Regions from separate parts of the Homo sapiens genome. Here region 1 is linked to region 2. The links are contacts of gene promoters, found by promoter capture Hi-C in human tissues and cell types (Jung and others, 2019). All regions are on one chromosome and are shown on one strand. The core of a region is centred on a gene start or on the middle of the fragment in contact, and the rest is flanking DNA. Distances in the headings are between cores, read along the strand shown.

Region 1 (6,327 bases), core at 3,282-5,781, 140 kb before region 2:
TGCTCCACACCCACTGGGCTGGGAGGCCAGGACGAGCTGGGGGCCCCACTGTATGCCCAGTGCCTAGAATAGTATCTGGTACACAGTAGCTACTCTGTGTTTGTTGGATGAATAAAAGAACTGAGCTGGAGAATGAAGGACAGTTTAACGTTCAGCATCTCAATGCTCAAACGAGGACGTGGGAAATCCTGGCAGGACAGTGCCTTCCAACTAACTCAACAACGACCTCCTTGGTCCTGCCATTTGCAACCAGGCCAGAGGCTCCCACGTGGGGGCCCTTCCCAGGAAGCCACTGCTACTAACATCCTACTCTCAGCTCCCATTTCACACCCTTGGCTCCAGCAAGGCCAAAGGATGGGCAAGCCCCTCACTGGGTCTCTGGGCTTCACATAGGCTGGACCTGCCAGGAATGAGCCCTACCCCATCTTCCTGGCCAAGCCTTCTTCTTGCCCTCCTCAGTGGCTCCTTCCCCTGTGAGCCCTTTCCAGACACCTCACTTGTGGCCATGCTTGTCCCTAGGCCAGGACTCATCAGTATGCTCGGTGATGGATCTGTTTACACATCTAACAGACACGGAGCCCCTGGAGGCAAGGAGAGGCCTTGGCTTTAGGAAGCTTTTAGCAGCCAGTGACTGAACCCCCAGTCTGAGAGGCTGAAATCAGAGTGGTGTTCTCTAACACACATGAGGTGTAGAGGTAGATGGCTGCGGGTATCAGGTCTGCACAGCCACCGGGCACAGGCAGGACTCTGGGAAAGAGGCTCCCCCTCCTGGATGACTTAGCATCTCAGTTGATCCCCTAACAGCCCAAGGAGGTGGGCACTGTTATTCCTGTTTTGTCAATGAGGGAACGAGCTAGACAGCAGAACAGCTGGGGTGCCAGGATTTGAAAGAACAAGCTGTGCCCACACCTGTGCCTCTGAGGAGGGTCACTCAGCACTGTAGGAGGAGCATCCCTAAGAGCCGCATGTCACAATCCATACCTTCCTCTTTATGCATGTCCTACAAGTTCATCCTATTGCTTTGCACAAAGTTTTAAGATCAAGACTGTTTGGTGGGTATCCAATAAGAAGGCCAGAAAGGTTTCAGGAGAGGAGGGTCTCATGCCCTCTATTTGCCTCCAGGTTCCCGTCAACATGGCTGTGTTTGGATCCTCTAACCCCGGCCTGGATGGACAGTGGTTAGAGCAACTCCATAAGACCTGCTCACCGCAAGAAGCCAGGGCAGGGCAAGCCTTAAGTTTCCAAGGTCCAGCCAAGTCGATGAAAGCTGATTGCTGGTGACTGTGTCCTGGTCCACCAGCCTTTAGGCCTGGATATAGCACAGTCCGGGAGCTCAGGTGGTTCTTTTTAGAGGGACAGGAGACAGGGAAGAAACCAATTGCACAGAGTCACCCGTGACTTAAGCATTAGGGGCCAGGGCCTCCTCCATTTTTCTGGTTCGGAAATCACATCGTATCAAGGCAGCAGAAGTTTCACAGCCCTGGAGGGTTGACTCGTTTGGGGCAAACTCAAGAGGGCCTGATGAATAAGCCAGACATCACTGACACTGCAAATGCCAACAGTGACATTGGGATACCACCCACCAGGGGCTGGACCCCTTGCTGAGTGTCTCTGTCTCCAAAAACAGCTGTGCAAACTGGGCAGTATTTGGCTGCATTTGACAGAGACAGAAACAGAACCCTGAGAGGAAAAGGCAAGCAGCTTGAAGTCACAACCAGGAAGTGGCAGAGCGGGTTTCGAACCCAGGTCTGCCTGACTCCTGGTCCTGCAAGGTCTTTCACTATAGGCGATCTAAACTTGTGCCACTAACTTTCCTCTATACCAAGGGTCAGCAAATTCTTTCTGCAAAGGGCCAGATAGCCAATATTTTAGGCTTCGTGGGACATATGTCCTCTTTGGCAACTCTGCACCTCTGCCATTATAGCAGAAAGGCATCCACAGACAATGTGTAGATACATGCCATGTGTAGATACATGGGCATGACTCTGTTCCAATCAAACTTTATTTACAAAGACAGGCACTGGGCCAAGTTTTGCCCATGGGCTGTAGCTACCACCCCCTGTGGTATACCATGTGACAGAGAAGCAGCAGCTTTAATTCCTGACCGTGACGCTGCCATTTCTAACTTCAACACCGCACTTTTGATTTCATTTCTAGGCTTATTTTTCACATTTCCTTAAAAAGTAAATGTACGGTTCTAATCAGATAATCAATAATCAATTAACAGTGACTTTCAGGCCCTCGTACCTGGTAGGAAGACAGTAACAAAGACCAAAACTTTCACTGACTTGTGTTTTTTAAGACTTTGAAAAATAAAAACTATTAAACAAATGAAAAAATTGTAAGGAAACCCAAAACAGGTAGCCAGGTATCCCAGTGAATGTCAACAGTATGGGTTGGGGATGATCTCAGAGAGGCGGTGGTGACAAACAGCACGAGACCCCCTCAGTCTCGCCTGCTGCTGGGTTAAGCAGCATCTACCGTGCTGCTCCCTGACACTGCTTGTTGTCTGTAATAAGAAAGCTCCGACAGGGATGAAAAGCCAATTTTATGACCGTCTCAGAGTGTTTCACCAGCTCCTTGAAGCTTTATTGTATGCTAACACCATGGCATCAATTCTTGGTCCAAAGGAGTTTGCTGGCAGGGGAGAAACAAATGCCCATCGTTGCCAGAAAGAACGGGTGTGAGAATGCAGGCCAGTCCCCGAGAAGCCAGGTGTGGCATGGGGGCCAGCTGGATGCCCACAGCATCCGAGAGGGTCTGGGAAGGAGGTCTATTGAAAGATGACCTGCTTCTACTGAACACAAGGCCCAGAGAAGTCACACACCTTGCCCAACGTCACACAGCACATCAGCAGAGGTCTGACTCCCAACTGAATGCTCCAGTTTTCTAATCTTAGGACACCACCTGAAGCCTCACTAGTCCCCACCTCATAAGTGGGCCACGATCAAGGCCTTGAATTTCCATTTAAGAAGTGGGCACATGAATCCATTTCCTCTTCCATGAGAATCAGCCCCATTTTCCCCAGCACCAAGATCACTGAAAGCAGCCAGGACTATGTCCTTGATGGGATGGTGCTCATACCTGCACCTGCACTGTCCTGCCTGACCCCCATGAAACCCTAGGTATGAGCATCATGATTTTCCAGGAGGAAGCTGAGGCCCAGAGAGGCAAAGCAAGTTGCCTGAAGCCACACTGCCTGCACCAGACATCCAGCTCCAGAGTCCATGTCTTCTCTGATCCACCTGACTGCCTGGTATCAGCGAGAAGCCAAAGGGGACTGAGAGGTCCAAGAGGAGAGAAATGACTTCCCTACGTGACTCCCCCACTCCAGAGTGCTGGGGAGAAGTGGTTTACAAAGTCTCCGTGAAGAAAGCCTCAGACCCTCAGAGGAGAGTGCACGCCTCCTCGGTGCACGAGGGGAAACATGTTGAAATGTTCATTTAGCAGAATCAGGCCAACTTTGTAATCCTATCCACTCCTCCTTTCAACAGCTTTGCAGATCCAGCCGGGCACGGTGGCTCACACCTGTAATCCTAGCACTTTGGGGGGCCAAGGCGGGTGGATCACATGAGGTCAGGAGTTCCAGACCAGCCTGGCCAACATGGTGAAACACCGCCTCCACTAAAAACACAAAAATTAGCCAGTTGTGGTGGTAGGCACCTGTAATCCCAGCTACTTGTGAGGCTGAGGCAGGAGAATCACTTGAACCCAGGAGGCGGAGGTTGCAGTGAGCCAAGATCGCACCACTGCACTCCAGCCTGGGCGACAGAGCAAGACTCTGTCTCAAAAAAACAACAACAACAACAAAAAAAAAACTTTGCAGATCCCTGATCCTGTTTGTTGGAAGATGTTTATCAGTGGCTTCCATAGCCCTGGGACACTGCCATCTGCCTCTTCCGGCAGCCCACTTTTGGGGTTGGGGTTACTAGGGAGATTCTGGATGACAGAGATGGTTCTGCCTGCAAGCCCAAGGATCAGTATAACTGAGCAAGGGGACGAGCCGCCTGAGGAGGGGAAGGTGTGAAAGCCACCAGGGTGTGCAGGTCCGTGTTTCCCTGCACCTGGAGGGAGAGAGGTTCTGGAAGGCAGCCCCTGCCAGCTTCCATGGTATAAATACCCCTGCCCTGGCCAATTTCAAACTACCAACAAGATGTCTGCTGGCTCTCCAAACTGAAAATTAAGCAATCAACCTCAAAAGCTAATATGAGGGGCTCCAGAACACCATGGAGGGGCCCTGCTCCCAGGACAAAATCAGGGGCAGGCCCCAGGTTTCCAGGACCCTCCTTGGAGAAAGCTGCTCAGGCTGAGACTACGGTCCCCAGAAGTCTGGAGAGCCCAGAGTTCAGGCTGGCAGTCACCCTGGTTACTTTGTGACCCATCCCCAGCCACGTCTGTGTCCCCAAGGGGCTAAGTCCAAAGCTGTGGAGGGGACATGGTTTCGGTCCAGAGCCCCCCCTTCCCTGGCTCCTCTGTGCTTGAGCCCCTCCTACTTGTATCTGGACCTCCCCTGGGTACACTTCCTTGATAAACCACTTATACTCTAGTCCACACCTCGGGGCCTGCCTCTGGGGAGCCTGGACAAGAGACCCTGGACCTCTAAGACCCCAACCCTGCCTCTGATACCCTTCCCAGTGGTATGGCCTCAGTGGGTGGAGGATGGGCCGTGGACTTAGTCATTTGGGGCTGCTCCCACAGAATACTACAGACTCGGGGGGCTTATAACAACAGCCATTTACATCTCACAGTTCTAGAGGCTGGGAAGTCCAAGATCGAGGTGTAGAAGCTTCAGTGTCTGGGGAGGGCCTCTTCATAGTTCATAGATGGCCATCTTCTCACTGTGGGGTCCCTTTATAAAGCCACTGATCCCATAAATGAGGGCTCCATCTTCATGACCTGACCACCTCCCAAAGGCCCCACCTCTTAACGCATCACCTTAAGGCTTAATTTCAATATACGAATTTGGGAGAAACCAGACCTTCAGATGACAGCAGTAGGCTTTGATGAGCGCCTCTCTGGCTACTCAGTCCCTCCCCATCCTCATGGCTATGGTCTTTGCCCAGTAAGTGGCTTCTGCTTCCTACCTGTCCCCACCCTCCCTTGCCTCTCCTGAGCCATGTTCACCTGCTGCCCAAGTGACCTTTCTGAGAAACAAGTCGGAGGAGGCCACAGCTCTGCCTTCTGGGGCTCACAGTGGACTGAAGGCCCCTCGACTGATTCAGCAGACATCTCTGAGCCCCAGGGATGAAACAAGTGTTGTACCCACATCCTCAGTAGGTGTCCAAGGACCGTCGGGACCCAGCGCCTGCTGCCTCGTTTCCCCCTCTCCCCTCTACTCCAGCACCTTCAACAACCTGGAATTCCCTGAACACACACCAGCTTCACTGTCATCTCCCAAATCCCAAAGGGTGGGCCCAGTATTTCAGGATAGAGGATTTGGACTGTACAGTAATATGGTGCACAGGTCACCTAGGACATCTGTCACCCCCAAGGGCTTCTGGGACAACACGCATACGCATTTCTATTTCTGTACATAACATATGAAACTTCACACTACAGGGATAGAGAAGGGCTATAAATGGTTTCACATCAATTTAGGTTGGGTTTCACTGCCAAATAAGTTAGGAAAAAATCTTTAGGCTTTCAGAGCCTCTTGGATTTTAGAATACAGTTGACCCTCAAACATGAGCTGAGCTGTGAGGGTCACTTATACATGATTTTCTTTCGCCTCTGCTACCCCTGAGACTGCAAGACCAACCCGTCCTCTTCCTTCTCCTCAGCCTACTCAACATGAAGACAACGAGGATAAAGATTATAGTGATCCCCTTCCACTTAATGAACAGAAAATATATTTCCTCTTCCTTATGATTTTCTTAATGATGTTTTCTTTCCTCTAGCTTACTTTATTAGAATACAGTATATAATACATATAACATACAAAATGTATGTTTATCAACTGTTCATGTTTTTGGAAGTCCAATCAAGAGGAGGCTATTAGTTAAGTTTTTGGGGAGTCAAAAGTTGTATGTGGGTTTTTGACTGTGCAGGGGGTTGGCTCCCCCAACCCCGTGTTGTTCGAGGGTCTGCTCTGTTGCTGAATGGCTCTCTGTGCACAGCTGAAGGCTTCCCTGCTATTTACCTAGAAGGGGAACAGAGGGGCTGCTTGGACATATCTGGATATTGGCAAATGACTTTGCAAATGGTTTGCTTTCATATCCATTTCCAGTGGTGGCATGAGTTTCCATTTCTCCAGCCCCGCCCTACACTTGGTATTGTAAGACATCAACAGTTTTGCAGATCTAAGTAGCGTCGCCTGAAACGGTGCCG
Region 2 (5,779 bases), core at 2,371-4,870:
GAATAATCCAGGAGGGGGTTGTGAGTATCACCTTCAAGCCTGAGACTAGCTGCAGCAAGAGCTCACGCAAGAGCCTTGAGGAAAGTACAAATGAAACCCTACACAGCTGTGATACAGTGGGCAGGAGAGAAAATGACATGAGGTCTCACATGTTGTTGTAGTCAGATGGGGGGCTGGAGCTGAAACAGCATGGTGATCTTGAGCTGCTCCCTGTGGTCTGCCCCATGTGGGCTGGTTGGGCTTCCTCACAGCATGGTGGCCTCAGGGTAGTTGGACTGCTGACAGGGCAACTCAGGCCTCCAGGCACGAGTGCTCCAGTGAACATGGATGTCATGGAAGTCACACAGTACAACTTTCACTACATTCTCTTTGTAACAAGTGTGTCACAAGCCCGCCCATGGGCCAGGCACAGTGGCTTATGCATGTAATCCCAACACTTTCGGAGAATCCCTTGAGGCTAGGAGTTTGAGACCAGCCTGGGCAACATAGAGAGATCTTGTCTACAAAAAAGAAAAGAAAAATTAGTTGGGCATGGTGGCATACACCTATAATTTCAGCACTTTGTGAGATGGTGGTGGGAGGATGCCTCGAGCCCAGGAGTTCAAGATCAGCCTGGGCAACATAACGGGATATTATATCTAAAAAAAAAAGAAAAAAAAAAGTTTTCATTAGCCAGGCATGATGGCACATACCTGTGGTCTCAGCTACTCAGGAGGCTGAAACAGGGGGATCACGTGAGCCTAGGAGTTTGAGGCTGAAGTAAGTTAGGAGTCCACCACTGCACTCTGGCCTGGGCAACAGAGCAAGACTCTATCTCTAAAAAACACAAAAATTAATAAAATAAAAAACAATAAATAAACAAGATTCAATGAGAGGAGACATAGACCCTATCTCCTAATAGGAAGAATGTCAAGATCATATTGTAAATCAAAAATAAAATTATAAGCCCCAGCTGAGAGAATGGACCCCCTGTCGGCCAAGGGGACCCCAAAGAAACCCAAAAAACTAGTTCAGGCCATGATGGGAAGTGGGAGGTCACACATGCCTCATCATAGCCTCCTCCCTTTAAGTTTCGGCACAGCTGACCAGCATTAACATTAACATAGAGATCCTCCTAAGACTGACAGAACACTTTTGTAGCAATCAGATACCCGATTCTAACATGACTCTGGTATAGCAACACACGACAGAGAGCAGGCCCTAAAGGAAATCAAAGTATTTTACCCCAAAATAAATTTTCTTTGACATATTTTGAAATGGACTTGCAAAGTCATCTCTTGTGGGGGAAACTTGCATTCTGTAGAGAATCTCCTTACTTACTAGCTCTTTTCCAGAGAGTCTGATACCTTTTAAGGTCCCCAGAGACATGCACATCTATTCTCTCTGAAGCCTGCTAACTGGAGGCTTCATCTATGTAACAAGAACCTTAGCTTCCACATCCCCATTGTCTTAACTCAAGCATTTCTTTCTGCCGACTCCAACTCTTCAGGTAAAGCTTAACTCTTTTAACCAATTGCCAATCAGGAAATCTTTGAATCCTCCTCTGACCTGGAAGCACCACCCACCCACTTCAAGATGTCCCACCTTTCTGGGCCAAACCAATGTATACTTTACATATATTGATTCATGTCTTTGCCTGTAACTTCTGTCCCCATAAAATGTATAAAGCTATAGCCCAACCACCTTGGGCACCTGTTCTCAGGACCTCCTGAGGCTGTGTCACAGGCCATGGTCACTCCTATTTGGCTTAGAATAAACGTTCTGAGATATTTTAGAGTGTGGCTTTTCTCGTCAACCAAATTCTACAAAGAGCTTGGGGGGTGGGTAATGTTGTGGAGCCCATCTTTGGCAGATACAGTCTGCCAAAGATTGTGACACTGCCTTATCGATAAACTCAGTGGCTTAACACAATTAAAGCTTATTTCTCCCTCTTGTCACAGCTCTTTGGGTTCCTCATGGTTCCATGTGGTTCTTCAGAGCCTCCATTGGTGGCTCTAACCTCCCTGAGGTCCTCGGAGTGCCCTCCACTGGAGCAGTGGGTGAGTAAGAGAGCAGGGCTCACCCACAGGAGGTTGTTAGGGGCCAGCCTGGAAGAGGAGCACAGTGCCCGCCCCCACCCATCCCATTGACTAGCACTTAGCCACGTGGCCGCACCTGGTTGCAGAGGCTGGAGAGTGGAGCCCAGCTGTGAGCCTGGCCGGTCATGGGGACATGTGTTAGTGAGTACTGTCCACGTCAGGCTCAGACCATCTGACCTGAGGCTATGGGGATGCAGGGGTCCCCAGGGGGTGGACAGGACAGAAGGAGGAGGGAGACCTGCTTGGAGAACCTGTTCTCAGTTTCCATTTGTTACATAATGGACAAGAGGACCAGCACTTTTGCTCAGAGCTGCAGCTCTGGTTCCGCTAGGAAATGCCAGGCAGGGGCACAGCCAAGTGGTTCTCAGACAGTAAACCCCAAGCCACAGACCCTTGCTTTCTTGGGCAGGGAGTAGTGGACAGGGCTGACTCCAGGCAACAGTCCCAAACAGGCTGCACCAATGTGACCGCACCTCCCCTGAGTGCAGGCAAGGGGTGCTGTGCTCACGCTCTCAGCCTGGGTGCATCCTTACTTTGTTCACAGCTCCTCTATCGGACCCATTTCACTGAGGCTCAGCGAGGTTACCTATGTCGCCCCAGGTCACCATCCAGTAACCCAGAAAGCTTCTCTTGGCTCCTCCACTAACTGCGTGATCTTGGACAAGTCAGTTACTGTCTCTGAAAGCCAGTTCTCCTCCTTAAAATGGAGACAGTTGAGCCAGGCATGCTGGTTTATGCCTGTAATCCCAGCACTTTGAGAGGCGGAGGCAGGAGGATCGCTTGAGCTCAGGAGTTTGGGACCAGCCTGGGCAACATAGTGAGGCCCCCATCTCTATAAATTTTTTTTTTAATTAGCTGGGTGTGGCAGTGTGCCCCTGTGGTCCCAGCTACTCAGGAGGCTGAGGTGGGAGGATCACTTGGGCCCGGGAGGTCAAGGCTGCAGTGAGCCCTGATCGCGCCACTGCACTCCGGCCTGGGAGACAGAGTGAGATCCTGTCCAAAAAAAAAAAAAGGAGACAGTCCCATAACAAGCCCCCCATGGCGCCGCCCAGATGGGGTTTCGACGCCAGGGAGAGGAGGGAAAGGGTTATCAGGGAAGGTTCCTGGTGGCAGAGCTCACAGGGTCCGTGCTGAGCCGAATTTTGCACGGTAGCCTCAGAGTCCCGGAGCCGAGTCCAGAGGGCGGGATGCAGGTATTGCGAAGAGGCACACGCTCCGAGAGGAACCACCAGAGCGTGGGCTTTGGGCGAGGAGGGGTCTCCTCTGGTTGGGGGAGATCTGGCAGGCTTGGGGGAGATGGGGCTGAAAGGATGGACAGGGAGGGAAGGCCAGAAAGCTGGAGACGGGGATGGAGAGCTAAACCGCAAAGAGCAGGCGCCCTGCCCCGCTGAGGGCCCCGCGCCTCCAGCTCCTCCTTCCCGAGCTTCCCGGGGTCGGCGTCCAGCCGGCAACCAATGGGCCCCGCCCCCGCCCGCAGCCAATGGGCCGCGTCCCCGCCCGCGCGGCCGCCCCGCCCCTCGCGGACCCGGAAGTGGGCCTGGCACCTTCCCGGCCTGCCGCAGGGATGGGGCAGCTGTGCTGGCTGCCGCTGCTGGCACCGCTCCTGTTGCTGCGACCGCCAGGGGTCCAGTCCGCCGGCCCCATCCGGGCCTTCGTGGTGCCCCACAGCCACATGGACGTGGGCTGGGTCTACACTGTGCAGGTAGGTGCCGACCACGCCCCGCGCGCCCCTGAGGCTGCAGCTTCCCTCTCCCCGCGGGATCTGAGTGTGGGTTTGCGTCCCGGGGCCCGATGCCGGCGCAGAAGGAGGCTCAGTGGGTTCAGGACCCCACGCTGCCATTGACTGGTTGCGTCGCTAACTTCGGGCCAGTCACTTCCTGCCTCTGAACCCCCATTTCCCCTTCTGGAGGGTGGTGCAGATTGGAGGGACCCCTGCATTCCCGGCTGGGGAGGGGCTTGGGGGTTGACAGTGGTAACCCATTTTCCAGGGAAGCCTGGAGCAGGAGAGGGTGGGGCTGGCTTCAGAGCAGGTGGATGTCAGGTGCCCGCTGGGAAGGGGCCGGGCTGGTCCCCTGCGGGGCTGAATATTGGAGGCCAGCTCAGCGTCCTCCGCCCCCCAGGACAGGGGTGAAGGTGGACCTGTGGTCACCTCCTGGTTCTGCTCAGGACCTTGGGCGAGGGGCTTTGGTCCCTAAGCCTCAGTTTCCCCATCTGTAAAGGGTAGGGGAAGCATGCCCACTACAGCCAGTTTCCAGAGGAGAAAACCGAGGCCCAGAGAGGGTTGCTGCCTTGCCCAAGGTCGCTCGGGAATAACCCTCATGCCTCCTGACTCCCTGCTCGGTGCTCCTTCCATTCATGTAAGCACTCTGTGGGCACCCTGTGTGCAGGGCCCTCGGGACTCGGATGGGAACACACTACAGCTGTGGTCCTTGGAGCTCCCAGCCTTGGGGAGGCAGACGCCTAGACGCCAGGGACAGCCTGGGGAGCTCTTCCTCTCAGCACCAGCTTTCCTCATTTCAGCCCCAGCAGGCCCCTTTGGGGTCACTGGACCACACCCCGACTGAGGCCTAAGACTTTCCTGTGCTGCCCCTCAATGGCACACTCAGGGCCCAGCCCCCCAAATTGCACACTCAAGGCCCAGCTTGCTCACCCCTCTGAGAAACTGTCCCTGACCCCTGGGCTGGGAGGGCACCTGTCTCTGCCCATGTAGGGTGTCTGTTTCCCCGTCCCTCTCCCCCAGGAGAGCACGATCCCATCCAGTGGGGAGAGCCTGGTATGGAGCGAGTGCCTAATAGCTGTGTGGGGGGTGAGCAGCAGGGAAGGAAGGGCAGAGCCCCCAACCCCATGCAGACACACCTGGCGAATGGCAGGGGCCCCAGGGACACTTGGTCTTGTTGGACCGGGGCTGGCATGATGCTGTCCCCTCCCCAGGAAAGCATGCGGGCGTACGCCGCCAATGTCTACACCTCAGTGGTGGAAGAGCTGGCCCGCGGCCAGCAGCGCCGGTTCATCGCTGTGGAGCAGGAGTTTTTCCGGCTGTGGTGGGATGGCGTCGCCTCGGACCAGCAGAAATACCAGGTAATGAGGTCACCAGGTGACACAGTTGGCCCAGTATCCTGGCAAAGACCCAGGTGGAAAACTCAATGGGGCAGTTCTAGCCAGGGCCAGGGCCAGGCTGGCATAAACCACAGGGCCAAAACCCCACCGGGCTATTCACAGCCTTGTTTAGATCAAGGTTCACGGTGAGTTCCATGCCTGGGAGAGATTGCTTTCAATTTAATCCTGAATTTCTGTCTATTCTTGAAAAAACTGCCAGCTCTGGCAACCCAGCTGTGCACTTCCGTGCCAGCTGGCACTAAGTCAGCAGTGCCCCCTGACACCAGGCATCCCAGGTGTCCCCAAGCCCTCACCCTCTTCTCTCATTTGTGTTATCTGCCTGGCCCCCGGGCCCAGGGTCTGGTGACCCTTGATGAGGGTGCGATAGTCCCTGTGGTTTGAGGGTAGGCAGCAGGTTGCTTCATACAGCATGGAGAGTCAGAGTCCCCGCTGCACAGTGAGGCAGCCTGGGTCCCATCCTGCTCCCGCACCAGGGGACACGACTAGCCCCTGCGAGCCACAGATTCCACTTCTATTAAACGGGGGTGACCGCCCCATTGCAGAAAAGTCATGCCAAGAATGAAGCCCTGGCGTGAGCACCCAGG

What was found. The method cuts DNA at HindIII sites, captures the fragments that hold promoters and counts their contacts. A contact is called where the count stands out against the background at its distance.
Region 1: a contact is called between a fragment that was not itself captured here and the fragment with the promoter of MAN2B2 in region 2, in 2 of the 25 tissues and cell types used here (dorsolateral prefrontal cortex and mesendoderm cells).

The regions. Positions count from the first base shown.
Region 1 is chr4:6,427,137-6,433,463 of GRCh38, forward strand. The region is part of intron 1 of PPP2R2C (protein phosphatase 2 regulatory subunit Bgamma); the gene reads right to left. Among named protein-coding and RNA genes, the nearest start is that of PPP2R2C, 42 kb to the right of the region's middle. The HindIII fragment of the contact is 5,863 bases long and covers 1,601-6,327 here.
Region 2 is chr4:6,571,569-6,577,347 of GRCh38, forward strand. It overlaps MAN2B2 (mannosidase alpha class 2B member 2), which reads left to right and starts at 3,621. Exons shown (of 19, transcript NM_015274.3): 1 at 3,621-3,780; 2 at 5,010-5,156. The coding sequence starts at 3,643. LOC105374365 (a long non-coding RNA gene) reads left to right here. Exons shown (of 3, transcript XR_925098.3): 2 at 1,941-2,039; 3 at 2,623-2,770. RefSeq lists enhancers at 1,817-2,585, 2,586-3,353, 3,354-4,122 and a silencer at 3,411-3,870. The HindIII fragment of the contact is 15,458 bases long and covers 2,310-5,779 here.